2 separate regions of the Homo sapiens genome follow, and region 2 is linked to region 1. The links are contacts of gene promoters, found by promoter capture Hi-C in human tissues and cell types (Jung and others, 2019). All regions are on one chromosome and are shown on one strand. The core of a region is centred on a gene start or on the middle of the fragment in contact, and the rest is flanking DNA. Distances in the headings are between cores, read along the strand shown.

Evidence for each region. The method cuts DNA at HindIII sites, captures the fragments that hold promoters and counts their contacts. A contact is called where the count stands out against the background at its distance.
Region 2: a contact is called between a fragment that was not itself captured here and the fragment with the promoter of CXADR in region 1, in 2 of the 25 tissues and cell types used here (small bowel and stomach).

What each region holds. Positions count from the first base shown.
Region 1 is chr21:17,508,893-17,515,942 of GRCh38, reverse strand. It overlaps CXADR (CXADR cell adhesion molecule), which reads right to left and starts at 2,900. Exons shown (of 7, transcript NM_001338.5): 1 at 2,771-2,900. The coding sequence starts at 2,813. RefSeq lists silencers at 2,730-3,269, 3,330-3,449. The HindIII fragment of the contact is 6,448 bases long and covers 1-4,394 here.
Region 2 is chr21:17,468,009-17,474,641 of GRCh38, reverse strand. No RefSeq gene overlaps it. Among named protein-coding and RNA genes, the nearest start is that of TRG-GCC1-5, 16 kb to the right of the region's middle. RefSeq lists an enhancer at 1,677-1,971. The HindIII fragment of the contact is 3,015 bases long and covers 3,032-6,046 here.

The sequences.
Region 1 (7,050 bases), core at 1,651-4,150:
TCAGAGCTGGAGGAATATCTATCACTGACGGTATAATCTGAATGAGTCTTTCCCTTGTTTTGCTAAAGTAGGAGTCAATCATGTTAACAGTGAACTTGAGTTAATAACAATGCCTTTTTTTTTGTTTATTTGTTTCAGAGACGGAGTCTAGCTCTGTCGCCCAGGCTGGAATGCAGTGGCGCGATGTGGGCTCACTGCAAGCTACGCCTCCCGGGTTCACGCCATTCTCCTGCCTCAGCCTCAGCTGGTACTACAGGCGCCTGCCACCAGGCTCGGCTAATTTTTTTGTATTTTTAGTAGGGACGGGGTTTCACCGTGTTAGCCAGGATGGTCTCGATCTCCTAACCTCATGATCTGCCCGCCTCGGCCTCCCAAAGTGCTGGGATTACAGGCGTGAGCCACCGCGCCCGGCCCATACCAATGCATTTCTAAATGGTCAGAAATATCTGAAGAAATAAAGCCATTCATCAATTAGTATGTCTTCTTTTTTTTTTTGAGACAGAGTCTCACTCTGTCGCCCAGGCTCGAGAGCAGCGTCATGATCTTAGACCTCATGAGCTTAGACCTCCCAGGCTCCGGCAAACCTCCCATCTCAGCCTCCCGCGTAGCTGGGACTATGACAAGCATCACTGCACCTAGCTAGTTCTTTTTGGGTTTTATTTTGTTGTATTTTTTGTAGAAATGCGGTCTCGCCATGTTGCCCAGGCTGGTCTCAAACTCCTACACTCAAATGACCCTCCCGTCTCAACCTCCCAAATTGCTGGGATTACAAGCACCGTGCCTGGCCTCAGCTGTTCTTAAACTGAAAAACTGGAATAAAGATAGTTGCCTTGTTTAGCTGAGACACTGGCCCTTCGAGTAGATGTTCACTGTACCCGTGTATACCTTATGAGCACAATGACTCTCTGCATCAAAATATTATTTCTTAGAATTGTGCCTATCAAAGTGAGGCATTCCAAAAAAAAAAAATTAAATCCAATTATCTAAATATTCCCGTTAAAACAACAACAACTAGTTCCTGCCAGGCATGGTGGCTCACGCTTGTAATCCCAGGACTCTGGGAGGCTGAGGGAGGCGGATCACCTGAGGTCGGGAGTTTGAGACCAGCCTGACCAACATGGTTTCTACTAAAAATAAAAAAGTTAGCCGGGCATGGTGGGGGGTGCCTGTAATCCCAGCTACTCAGGAGGCTGAGGCAGGAGAATCGCTTAAACGCGGGGGGCGGAGGTTGTGGTGAGCCAAGATCACGCCATTGCACTCCAGCCTGTGCAACAAGAGCGAAACTCCATTTAAAAAAAAAAAAAAGTTCCTCCACATAATTTATGTTCTTCCACTTTTCTGCTTTAGATGTGGTCTAAAACTATTTTTTTTTTTTTTCCCAGAGAACACACTGTGTTCTCAACTTCATCTTCAGGTTCGGCCTAGACAAAAAAAAGAAAAAAAAGAAAGAAAGGTGGGAATGTACCTGTAAACTGGTTCTATGACCCTTCATCTTCTCCGGAAGGCTTACTTTGGACATTTCAGCCCGCCAAGTCTAAATGATATATATCAAAAAGGTGGAGGTAGTGCTATAGGCTCAGATCGAAGATTAGACTTGCTAATAGAATGTTGATCCCATGAGTAATGCTCACAGCTGTGGCATCCAACAATGGAATTAACATTTCAACAGGAAGCAGAGAGCCATCCCAACAGAAAGGGCCACTAGATCCTGCTTCAGAGCACCTAACAACAAAAAATTACCCTTCCAGAGGCTATACTAAGTGCGCCTCCTAGGATCCCACCTACGGATTTTTAAAAATGAATTATTTGGTTATAAAACGCAGCAAGTGCTTAGTTTGACAAACAAGATCAGTTGGTTAAAACACCGACATGGAAAATCCGTTTTTTAAAGTGTCAAAATGATTACGCCTCCTAATGGTCCACGCATTTTTCACATGCCTTTTTTCCCCTCCCAGAGAAAGGAGCAGTCGACAAACGCACTTGGCAAATCCTCTAGCAATTACCCTGTACAACTCAGCCCGTCTTATCTCCAAAATGAACGACTCATTACAAACTCAAAAACGAGGTCACTGAATTCTCCTTTGCACTTCGCCCAAGGACTGCAGAAACCAATGCTACATTTTTGCAGGAACCCACTTTTGATTTTCCACGGTCTCCTTCACAATGCGCGTCTGGTTAGCAGCTCCTGCCTGGGCGAGCTGCTTCCAGGAGACTAACACCGTCCAGGCTGGCGTTCGCTCAGCGCCTCTTTCCTAGAGGTAGCCTGGCCGATCCGAGGCACCGGGCAGCTCCATGTCCATTGAATAATGGCGTTTGCAATTCAGCCTCCCCGCCTGGGCGACTCGACACCTGAAAACTCGCCGCCCAAGGTTTTTGAAATCGGGTAACGCTGGAGAGAACCGACACGAAGGCTGACAAGGGAGACGGCGAGAGCAAAGAAAGGCAAGCCCGCACCGGGGCAGAGAATGCTATGGGAGAGCTGCGAGGCGCACCCGACACGCCGCGCCCGAGCCCCTCCGCCTCCACCCCCCGCCGAGGGCTCCGTCCCCGGGCACTCCGCGCGCCCTGCGCGGCTCCCTACGGGACGGCTCCAGGAGCGCCCGGCCCAGCAAAAGCGCCCCTGTGCAATTCTGCCCGCCCCGCCGCCCCTGCAGCAGCGCCCCCAAATCGCGCCCGCCCCCTCCCCCACGCCCCATTGTTCCTGGGTGGCCGCGGGCAGCGAGCGCCCCCGGGCTGGGCGGGTGCTGAGGACCCCATGGCCCCTACTCACCCACTACTCCGCACAGGAGCACGAAGCACAGCAGGAGCGCCATGGTGGCTGCCGTGCCGTGGGCGGCGGCTGCAGGTAGGCGGCTCTCGCTCCTGGTCCCAGGCTCCCCGCGCCTCGCGCGCTCCCGACTGGCTCGCGGCGGCGGCGGCACCTCTGCACCCTCCGCCCCTCCTCCCAGCCCCCGCTCGGCAGGTGAACTCGCGTCACTTCCGGCAGCGGCCCGGGCCGGGCTGCGAGCGCCGGCTTCTCCAGCCGCGTGGGGTTGCCTTGGCAACCGGGCGAGGCGCTCTTCTGTCCCCGGGACCCTCCCGGCGCCGAACTCTCAGCCTCCCGGCGCGCGGCGTCGTAGGTCGCGGGCGGCCGCCTCCCACGCCGCAAGCCTGCGCAGGGGTCCCCGCCTCCATCCCTTAAGCTAAACCAGGGTTTTGCGCGCGGGGGTGGGGCAGCCCGTCTCCCACATACTGAAATTGCGTTGGCGCCCTCCTTTAAGGCGAGGCACGGGACACTCCCAGGGGCCGCCACTAGGGCGGCTCCTACCCTCCGCCCCGCCTGCACCCACCCGTCCCACCCCTCGCGGTTTGCCCCAGGGGCAGGTTCTCTGACCTCATGCTCACGGGATGCGACCTGTGCAGCCCCTGGCCTTCGCTCTCTTAACGAGCCGCTCTGGCTGACATAAAAAGCGCGAGAGGGCTTTTCTCCATCTCTGGTAGGGATAGAGCCCCTCTGCAGCTACCGATTTGGGAAATACCTGAGGTTTTTTCCACTTGCACAGAAAGGCTATTCTAGCCCTGAAGCTGGCTAGTAAGACGCTATAGTCCCAGCTACTCCGGAGGCTGAGGTAGGCAGACAACTATTATCCAATATTAGTGAGTGAGCTTTGAAAGTGGGGCTCAGTAGTTGTGGTTGAAGGCGTCAGTTGGAGTGTGGGGTCGGGGAATTGGAGATCTTGAAAGTTGTTGTCGGCTGCTCTTCCAGATAACGTTTATTTATAACTACATAGAGACTTTGTAGTGCCGCGACAGTTCCATAACAGAAATGAATTGAAGAAGAGGAGCGGTGGGTAAGAGCTTATTCCGCGGAGTGGGGCAGTAACTGGGCAGGTTTCATAGAAATGGCACCTACTTCGGGGTTGCTATGAAAGTTAAATGAGATAATGCACAAAAAATGCTTGGCACCCTGCCTGGCACGTAGTTTTAATTAGCTTCCACTTACTGAGTTCTTGCTTACAGGGTTCCTGCTTATGTAGTCTATAAGCTTACATAGTTTGTAAGTTCCTGCTTACTATCTAGACTAAGCAGGAACCCCCGTAAGCAGAATTCAGTAAGTGGAAGCTAATAAAACTAATATTGGAAAATTCTTATTATGCATTGAACCAGAAAAGAGAAGGGGCAAAGAAATCAGGTATCAAGAAGACCAGAATTGCGCAACTGCAGTTTAGCCTGGTGAGTTGCAATTCTGGCTGCACATGAAAATTACTTGGAGAATGTTTTAAAAATACTAGTGCCTGGCTGGGCGCGGTGACTCACGCCTGTAATCCCAGCACTTTGGGGGCCCAGGCGGGCGGATCATGAGGTCAGGAGATCGAGACCATCCTGGCTAACACGGTGAAACCCTGTCTCTACTAAAAATACAAAAAATTAGCCAGGCGTGGTTGCAGGCGCCTGTAGTCCCAGCGACTCGGGAGGCTGAGGCAGGAGAATGGCGTGAACCCCGGGAGGGGGAGCTTGCAGTGAGCCGAGATTGCGCCACTGCACTCCAGCCTGGGCGACACAGCGAGACTCCGTCTCAAAAAAAAAAAAAATATATCTATCTATCTATCTATCTATATATGTATATATATACTAGTACCTGAGCCTTACTCAAGTGATTCCAATTTAATTTGATTTAAGGGGAATCCTGCTTTACGGCAGCCCAATAAATGACAGATGACCAGTGGTAGTAAGAGGAAGTGGCTTTGCAAAATCATACCATCTGATTGTAAAGTTCTGCCAAAGCTTTTACAAACTAATAAGAGTTCAATACAGACGTAAGACAACATGAGTAACGGCTAGGGACTTCCCATTTGAGCAAACAGGAATTCTACTGGATATAATTGCGTGTAAATAATATTTGGAATTTAAATTTTTACTCACCACACTAAATGAAATCAAGCAGAGAAGAGCAAGTATTGAAGTTGTTCATCTGTTTAACAGTGTTCTACGAGAACTTTTCTATACTCGCTCTGTCGCCCAGGCTGGAGTTCAGTGACCCCATCTCGGCTCACTGCAACCTCCGCCTCCAAGGTTCAAGCGATTCTTCTGCTTCAGCTTCCCGAGTACCTGGGACTACAGGCGCGCGCCACCACGCCCGGCTAATTTTTGTATTTTTAGTAGAGACGGGGTTTCACCATATGGGCCAGGCTGGTCTCGAACTCCCAGCATGTTGGGAGGCAGAGGTGGACGATCGCCTGAGCCCAGGCGTTCGAGACCAGCCTGGGCAACATGGCAAGACCCCCCATATCTACTAAAAATAAAAAATGAGCCGGATGTGATGGCGCGCAGTGCCTGTAGTCCCAGCTACTCCGGAGGCTGAGGTAGGAGGACAAATATTATCCAATATTAGTTTTGTTATCTTCCACTTACTATGTGCAGGAACCCGGTAAGCAGGATCTCAGTAAGTGGAGCTAATAAAGTGAGCCCAGGAGGCAGAGGTTGCAGAGAGCCTTGATCCAAGAAGGAGAAGGAAGCAGAAAGAAGAAGAAAAGGAGGAGGAGGAGGAGGAAGAATTACCCAAAAGGATTTAGGAGGAGGAGGGGGGGGGGAGGAATTACCCGAAAGGATTTAGGAGGAGGAGGGAGGAGGACCGGGAGGACGAAGGGAGGAGGAAGGAGGAGGAGGAGGAAGAGGAACAACAACTACCCAAAAGGATTTTTATCTTAATCCCTTTCCTGGTACTTTTTCTTCTAATTCTTAGCTTTTGCCTCCTTCTGTGTTAGGCATTTGCATACCTATTAATCACTTTTCTTGTTCTAAATACTTCTAGAAGGCTGAAAAAGCACATTTTTTTTTTGTCTTCGTCACTTCTGAAAGCACATACTAGGTTCTCAAGTATTTCTCAAGTTGAATTGAATGCTTATTTTCTATGGCAATATGTTAATAAAATTTAAGTATCTGTGCAACAACAAATCATTGCACCTTAAATATATCTTTTCAGAATGTGCTTTTTTGGGAGAGGGGGACAGGATCTCGCTCTGTCGCCCAGGCTGGAGTGCAGTGGCGTGATCTCGCCCACTGCAACCTTGGCCTCCTGGATTCAAGCGATTCTCCTGCCTCAGCCTCCTGAGTAGCAGGGACTACAGGTGCACTCCACCACACCCGGCTAATTTTTGTATTTTTAGTAGAGACAGGGTTTCATCATGTTAGCCAGGATGGTCTAGATCTCCTGACCTCAGGTGATCGCCCACCTTGGCCTCCCAAAGTGCTGGGATTACAGCCGTGAGCCACTGTGCCCAGCCCAGAATGCGTTTTTTAAAACGTAAGTTTTACATCAATTTTTTTCTGCTGCTTTAGATTACTGAACACAGATTTTTTTAAAATGTACCATTCTAAGATTTAAATAATCTTGAAAGAAGCAGTCGATCTTATTTGGGGAAGTATTGTTCTTTAAAAAGTTACATGAAGTCATTTTTAGACTTTGGTTTGTGACTAAATTATTTCATAAACAGTAGCTAAAATTATGCAGTTATGTGAAATATATTAAAGACACCTTAAAATGCATTTGTGGCTGTTGTCAGCTTGGAAATTATGTCTTCTGGAAGCTATAATAAGATAATCTCATTTATTCTGGAACATATAAATTATTCTTTTTTGTCTTCAAACCAAGCTAAGAAATAGTGCACAGCCATTAAGTGAATTGCCCTGTCTTAGTAATGCACCAAGCACTCCACATTATATAGCCTCTAAACCAGCTTAAAGGTGATGATCCTTGCTCCATCAAGGCTATAATTACAGATACACAAATAACTGTGGTTAATAAAGCATCCATCCTTACAAAAATGTCTCAGCACTAATAGATCTATGAACACACCCATAGATTATTAAAATCCTACAATCATATTCAAAGGTTAATTTATACTTAAGAATTAAAGGATTTTCATCTCTTCTCAGCTTGGAATATGAAGACATGTGAATTAAGAAACTCTCTTTTTTTTTTTTTTTTTTTTGGGACGGATCTCCATCTGTCACCCAGGCTGGAGTGCAGTGGCATGATCTCGGCTCACTGCAACTTCGCCTCCCGGGTTC
Region 2 (6,633 bases), core at 3,290-5,789, 43 kb after region 1:
CTGTTTTATATCCATGTGGAATTATATATATATATAGTATATATTTCCATAATTGTTTTAGGTATATAAACAGATGTGTATACATATTTTAAAACACACACACACATAACTCGGGCATATTAGAGATACTTTCTAACATCTGCTTTTTTCACTTAGTGATATTGAAAATTTTTTATATCAGAACGTAGAGATTTATTCAATTATTTTTAAAAGTATCATTATTTAGTTATCCTGTTCTCTGCAGACATTTGTTTCTATTTATGCATATATGCTGTACTGCCACAACACTTATCTTTGTTCATATATCTATGTGTGCAGACATGAAAGTAGATCTATAGGACAAAGGCTTAGGAGGAATTCATAAAATTCTTAATGTACATTAGGTGTGATTTGTGAGGCACCATTCTGTAAGAGGGACTTTACCTGTGTCCTTTGAAAGTGAGTGTATTAGTCTGTTTCCATTACTATAAAGGAATGCCTGAGACTGGGTAATTTATAAAGGCAAGAGGTTTATTTTGGCTCATGGTTCTGCAGGCTGTACAGGAAGCAAGATGCTGGCATCTGCTTCTGGTAACGGCCTCAGGAAGCTTACAATCATGGTGGAAGGTGAAGAGGGAGCTGGTATATCACATGGCGAGAGAGAGAGAGAGTGCAAGAGAGGAGGAGGTGCCATGTTCCTTTAACCAACCAGTTTCCATGAACTAACAGAATAAGAATTCATCCATTACCATCTGGAGGGCACCAAGCCATTCCTGAGGGATCTACCCCTGTGACCAAAATGTCTGCCACCAGGCCCCATCTCCAACACTGGGGATCACACTTCAACATGAGACTTGGAGGGGACACACACCAAACCATATTAGTGGGCAACTCAGATTTTAGTGGCGTTTATCATGTTTGGGGCCCTTCTTAACAACACCTGGAAGTCTCTGAAAATTGTGGGGTTTTTTCCTACCTTTTTATATGATATTTTTAAATTGGTCATTCAAAAAGATACAAAACATTACTATTGTACTGCAATTCCGTAATTAGTAAACTAGGTACAATTTATTATACCTCCTGGATATTGGTGACATCCCACTCGGTTTGCCCCAGGAGTAAGCCACATATGGACCTGTGCAGAAGATGGGTTTTTTTTTTGTTTTTTTTTTTTTGAGATGGAGTCTCGCTCTGTCACCCACGCTGGAGTGCGGTGGCGCGATCTCAGCTCACTGCAACCTCCGCCTCCCAGGTTCAAGCGATTCTCCTGCCTCAACCTCCTGAGTAGCTGGGATTACAGGCGTGCGCCCCCACGCCCGGCTAATTTTTGTATTTTTAGTAGAGATGACGTTTCACCATGTTGGTCAGGCTGGTCTCGAACTCCTGACCTCGTGATCTGCCCGCCTTGGCCTCCCAAAGTGCTCTGATTACAGGTGTCAGCCACCGTGCCCAGCCAGAAGATGTTTTTTAGCATAGCACAGGTTCTGCCATTCATGTTACTCAGGAGCAGTCTAGATCCTAAAGCGAGGGCCTGCAATTAAAGACTGAGTAAAAACTGGCAGAGCAATTTGCTGCATGGAACACTGCTGAGAGTGGCATCTTCTGCTTGCTTCTTACAGATAATAGCAGTATTAGTACTTTGCTTAGCTTATAATAAGCATTCAATCACTGTTAACTAGGCATTTTATATGCATTATATCATCTGCCATTACCACCATCCTATGAGGTAGGGCTATGAAAATCCCATTTGCTAAATACACAAACCTTTGTCACTGCTAATATACCTAGTGAATGGCAAAGCTGGAATTTGAACCCTGGCCGTCTGACTTCATAGATCGGACAAAGGACATGTTTTCTTCTACATTAGACATTGGCCCCAAAACGGCACACCTCTGCATGTTCAATAGCAGTGGCAGCATTTTCAGCAAACACTGGCATCACAGCTTCTGCTTTGCAGATTGGAAGTGATCTGAGTCATATCTAATAACAAGAACTAGACCCAGTTGCTCATGAAAAATAGGCTCTAGTCCCTCCTAGAACAATTCTGGAAGGCTATGGGAAAACCGGAGTTCCCAGAGGATAGAAGGAACAGATCTGGGGTTATATAAATTTGTGGCTGTGTTTGTCCATAGTTTTGCCCAAGGCCTGGCTTTCCTAAGTGTGCATATGTACACATGTACAGCTCCTGATGCATGTGAAAACCAAGACACATAGACCATACGTGACTACAAGGGTGTTGACTCTCAACACTTTCTCAGTCAGGTATTGGAAAAACTTGTAGCTGAAATAAGATAAACAGCTCTGTACTTGTTCTCTTTATTGTCCTGGCTCTGATTCACCTGCTGATCCTTTGGAACTCTCACACCAGTTTTTATCCCAGGCTGAGCCATATAGCTTCAAGCCAGGTTGGTAATTTCCTGATATGGGAGTAAATATAGAAACTTTATAGAATTCTCAGTTTCTGTCTACAGCTGTTCAAGTTTCAGTGAAACACTCACTATATCATGCCTAATTATCCAGATATATCTGTGTCTATTTGCTACAGTTCACTCTCTCTGCTTGGCAGGATTCTTCTTTTGCACTCAACAAAATGTCTTTTCCTTTTCGGTGATAGAGAATTTTTACTTTTGATTTTTTTTTATGTCTTGCTTTTGAAAGAATGTTCCAGGGCTGAGTGCTTTATGAGGACTCTTTCCCACTATGTAAAAGCAGTTTACTTCAAGGTTCTTTGGGGAATTATTCAGTGTCAGTACCTTACGTCTATACCAGCCCCATTATTTATAATTATTACATAGCCTGATGGAAGAAATACATTTGCATGCCAACAGAAAATTGTTAACAGTGAGGATTTGGAGTTTGATTGGTTTAGGTTCTAATCCAAAACCCTGTTCTTCCAAACCTTGGACAAACTAACTTCTCTAATACTCAATCTTCTTCACTTTAAAGTGACGATTAAATGACAAACCGCAACAATTCCAAAAAGATCCTCCCCTTTCTTTTATGTGTTGGAAACACTTACAAGGAGACTGTTCTATATTTTACTTATGTATTAAGATCTTTTCTTGGCTGGGCGTGGTGGCTCACACCTGTAGTCCCAGCACTTTGGGAGGCCAAGGTGGGCGGATCACTTGAGGTCAGGAGCTCGAGACCAGCCTGGCCAACATGGAGAAACCCCGTCTCTACTGAAAGTACAAAAATTAGACAGGTGTGGTGGCACATGCCTGTAATCCCAACTACTCAGGAGGCTGAGGCAGGAGAATCGCTTGAACCTGGGGTGGGGCAGAGGTTGCAGTGAGCCAATATTGTGCCACTGCACTCCAGCCTGGGTGACAGAACGAGACTCTGTCTCAAAAACAACAACAACAACAACAACAACAAAACTTTTCTCTTTGGGGAAAGTAGTGTTGGGAAATAAAATTTTTGAGGCTGTTAGAAAACTTTAGCTTCCCTGAAATTTACAAATCTTTGTGTTCTTTGAGTACCAATTGCTTCTGACAAAATTTTTAAAATCTAAATTTACTCAGAGATTTTACTATCAGGTAATTTTCAGTCTGGCAATGATTTTCTCAAAACCTAGACTTCTTGAATATTTTGGTATTTAAAAAACTACATGAGAATATGAGGGTTTTTTTTTTTTTTTGATGGTTCCTTGCTCTGTCGCCCAGGATGGAGTGCAGTGGCACGATCTCAGCTCACTGCAACCGCTGCCTCCCGGATTCAAGCGATTTTCCTGCCTCAGCCTCCTGAGTAGCTGGAATTATAGGCACCCGCCACCAAGCCTGGCTAATTTTTGTATTTTTAGTAGAAACAGGGTTTCACCATGTTGACCAGGCTGGTCTCGAACTCCTAACCTCAGGTGATCCGCCCGCCTCGGCCTCCAAAGGTGCTGGGATTACAGCTGTGAGCCACCGTGCTGAGCCTGAGATACTTATTTAAAAGACGAGATGGGCCGGGCGAGGTGGCTGATGCCTGCAATCCCAGCACTTTGGGAGGCCGAGGTGAGCGGATCACCTGAGGTCGGAGTTTGAGACCCGACCAACATGGAGAAACCCCGCCTCTACTAAAAATACAAAATTAGCCAGGTGTGGTGGCTCATGCCTGTAATCCCAGCTACTCGGGGGGCTGAGGCAGGAGAGTGACTTGGACCCGAGAGGCGGAGGTTGTAGTAAGCTGAGATCATGCCATTGCACTCCAGCCTGGGCAACAAGAGCAAAACTCTTGAACTCAAAGAAAAAAAAGACAAAAAAAAAAAAAAAAAAAACAACACAGAGATGGTGATTTAAGAACTAACAGCAGGTCGAGCGTGGTGGCTTACGCCTGTAATCCCAGCATTTTGGGAGGCCAAGGCAGTAGGATCACTTGAGCTCAGGAGTTTGAGGTCAGCCTGGGCAACAAAGTGAAATGCCATCTCTACTAAAAATCAAAAAAAGTACCTGGACGTGGTGGCACGTGCCTGTATTCTCAGCTACTCAGGAGGCTGAGGCAGGAGGGTCGCTTGAGCCCAGGAGTTAGAGGCTGCAGTGAGCTATGATCATGCCACTGTACCCCAGCCTGGACAACAGAGCAAGACCCTATCTAAAAAAAGAAAAAAAAAAGAAAGAAGAAAAAGAAAAAGAAAGAAAGAAAAAGAAAAGAACTAATAGCAGATATATTTTTGTTGTGGTAATATATACATAACAAAATTTAGGTAGGGCAGCATAGTGAGACCCTATTTCTACAAACAAACACTAAAACAAAGAAACCCAGCCAGGTGTGATGGTACACTCCTTAGTCCCAGCTACTTGGGAGGCTGCGATAGGAGGATCACTTGAGCCCAGGAAGTTGAGGCTGCAGTGAGCTATGATTGAACCACTGTACTCTAGCCTGGGTGACAGAATGCAACTCTACCTCTAAAAAGAAACACACACACACACACACACACACATAAAATCTACCATATACCATTTTAACCATTTTAAAATCTACAGTTCAGTGGCAAGTGGCATTAAGTATATTTACATTGTTATGCAACCATCACCACCATCTATCCTCAGAACTTATTTTATCCTCTCAAACTGAAATTCCACACCCATTAAACAATAACTCCTCGTGCCTCCCTTCTCCCAGCCCCTGGCAACTGTTTGATTTTCTAATGGCAGATAATTTTAAAGACAAAGCAGCGTGGCGCGGCTGCACGCCTGTAATCCCAGCACTTTGGGAGGCGAGGCGGTCAGATCACGAGGTCAGGAGATCGAGACCATCCTAGCTAACACGATGAAACCCCGTCTCTACTAAAAATACAAAAAATTAGCCGGGCGTGGTGGTGGGCACCTGTAGTCCCAGCTACTCGGGAGGCTGAGGCAGGAGAATGGCGTGAACCCGGGAGGCGGAGCTTGCAGTGAGCCGAGATCGCGCCACTGCACTCCAGCCTGAGAGCAGAGCCAGCTCCGTCTCAAAAAAAAAAAAAAAAAAAAAAGACAAAGCAAACAGGATGATGCTTCCATAGCTGGTAGCAAGCTTTGTATTTCTGCCCCAGGTCTGTGTCATTTCTAAACTATCCCACTGAGATATTAATTCAGCTTCTTCAGAAGGATATTACAGAGGAATGCCCAGTTTGACCGGATCACCTGGGACCAGCCAGTGCTGGGCAGTCCCCAGTCCCTTGGTAGGTGCTGTCAGGGGCTGGGCCACCTGGCTGCAACCCCACCAACTTCTGCTGCTTTTGAGAAATCAGTCCTGGACAAGTGCAGGGGCTCACACCTGTAATCCCCATGGCCTGAGGCCAAGAGTTCATTACTGGCCTGGGCAACATAGCAAGACCCTGTTTCTACAGAAAATTTAAAAATTAGCCAGGCAGGCCAGCCATGGTGGCTCACATCTGTAATCTCCACACTTTGGCAGGCCAAGGTGGGAGGATCATTTGAGCCCAGGAGTTTGAGACCATCCTGGGCAACATGGTGAAACACAATCTCTACAAAAAATACAAAAATTAGCTGGGCATGGTGGCATACATCTGTAGTCTCAGCTACTTGGGAGGCTGAGGTGGGAGGATCACTTGAGCCCGGGAGGGCAAGGCTGCAGCGAACTGTGATGGAGCCACTACACTCCAGCCTGGGTGACAGAAAGAAACCCTGTCTAATACAAAACAAAACAAAAAAATTGGCATGGTGGTGTGCACCTGTAGCCCCAGCTACTGGGGCGGCTGAGGTGGGAGGATAGCTTGAGCCTAGGAGTTTGAGGCTGCAGTGAGCTATGATCATTGCCTGGGGGGGCATAGTGAGACCCTGTCTCAAAAAAAAAAAAAAAAAAGAAAGTAAAGAAAAAGAAAAAGAAAGAGTAAATCAGTCTCAGCCTTGGTATCTTGTCAGCCTCTGACTCTTTCAAGCCTTGAATTTCAGGCGGAGGACTCCAGCGGGTTTAATACCCATCTGCCAATGTCAGCTCAGTTTCCATTCCACCAGGAATTTACTATTCAGCAACCCAACCCTGTTTTCTTCAGCCCAAACACTGACCTAGTAAAAGCGTACCAGACCTTGGGTGCATATCTGTAAAATGAAGAGGGTGAATTAGGTAATCTCAAAGGTATTTTGCAGCCCTGAAGTTGTTACTCTCTGTTTAAGAAAAACAAATAGTGGTCCTCATGTAAGAGGCTAGATAAGCTTTTTCTGTAAAAAT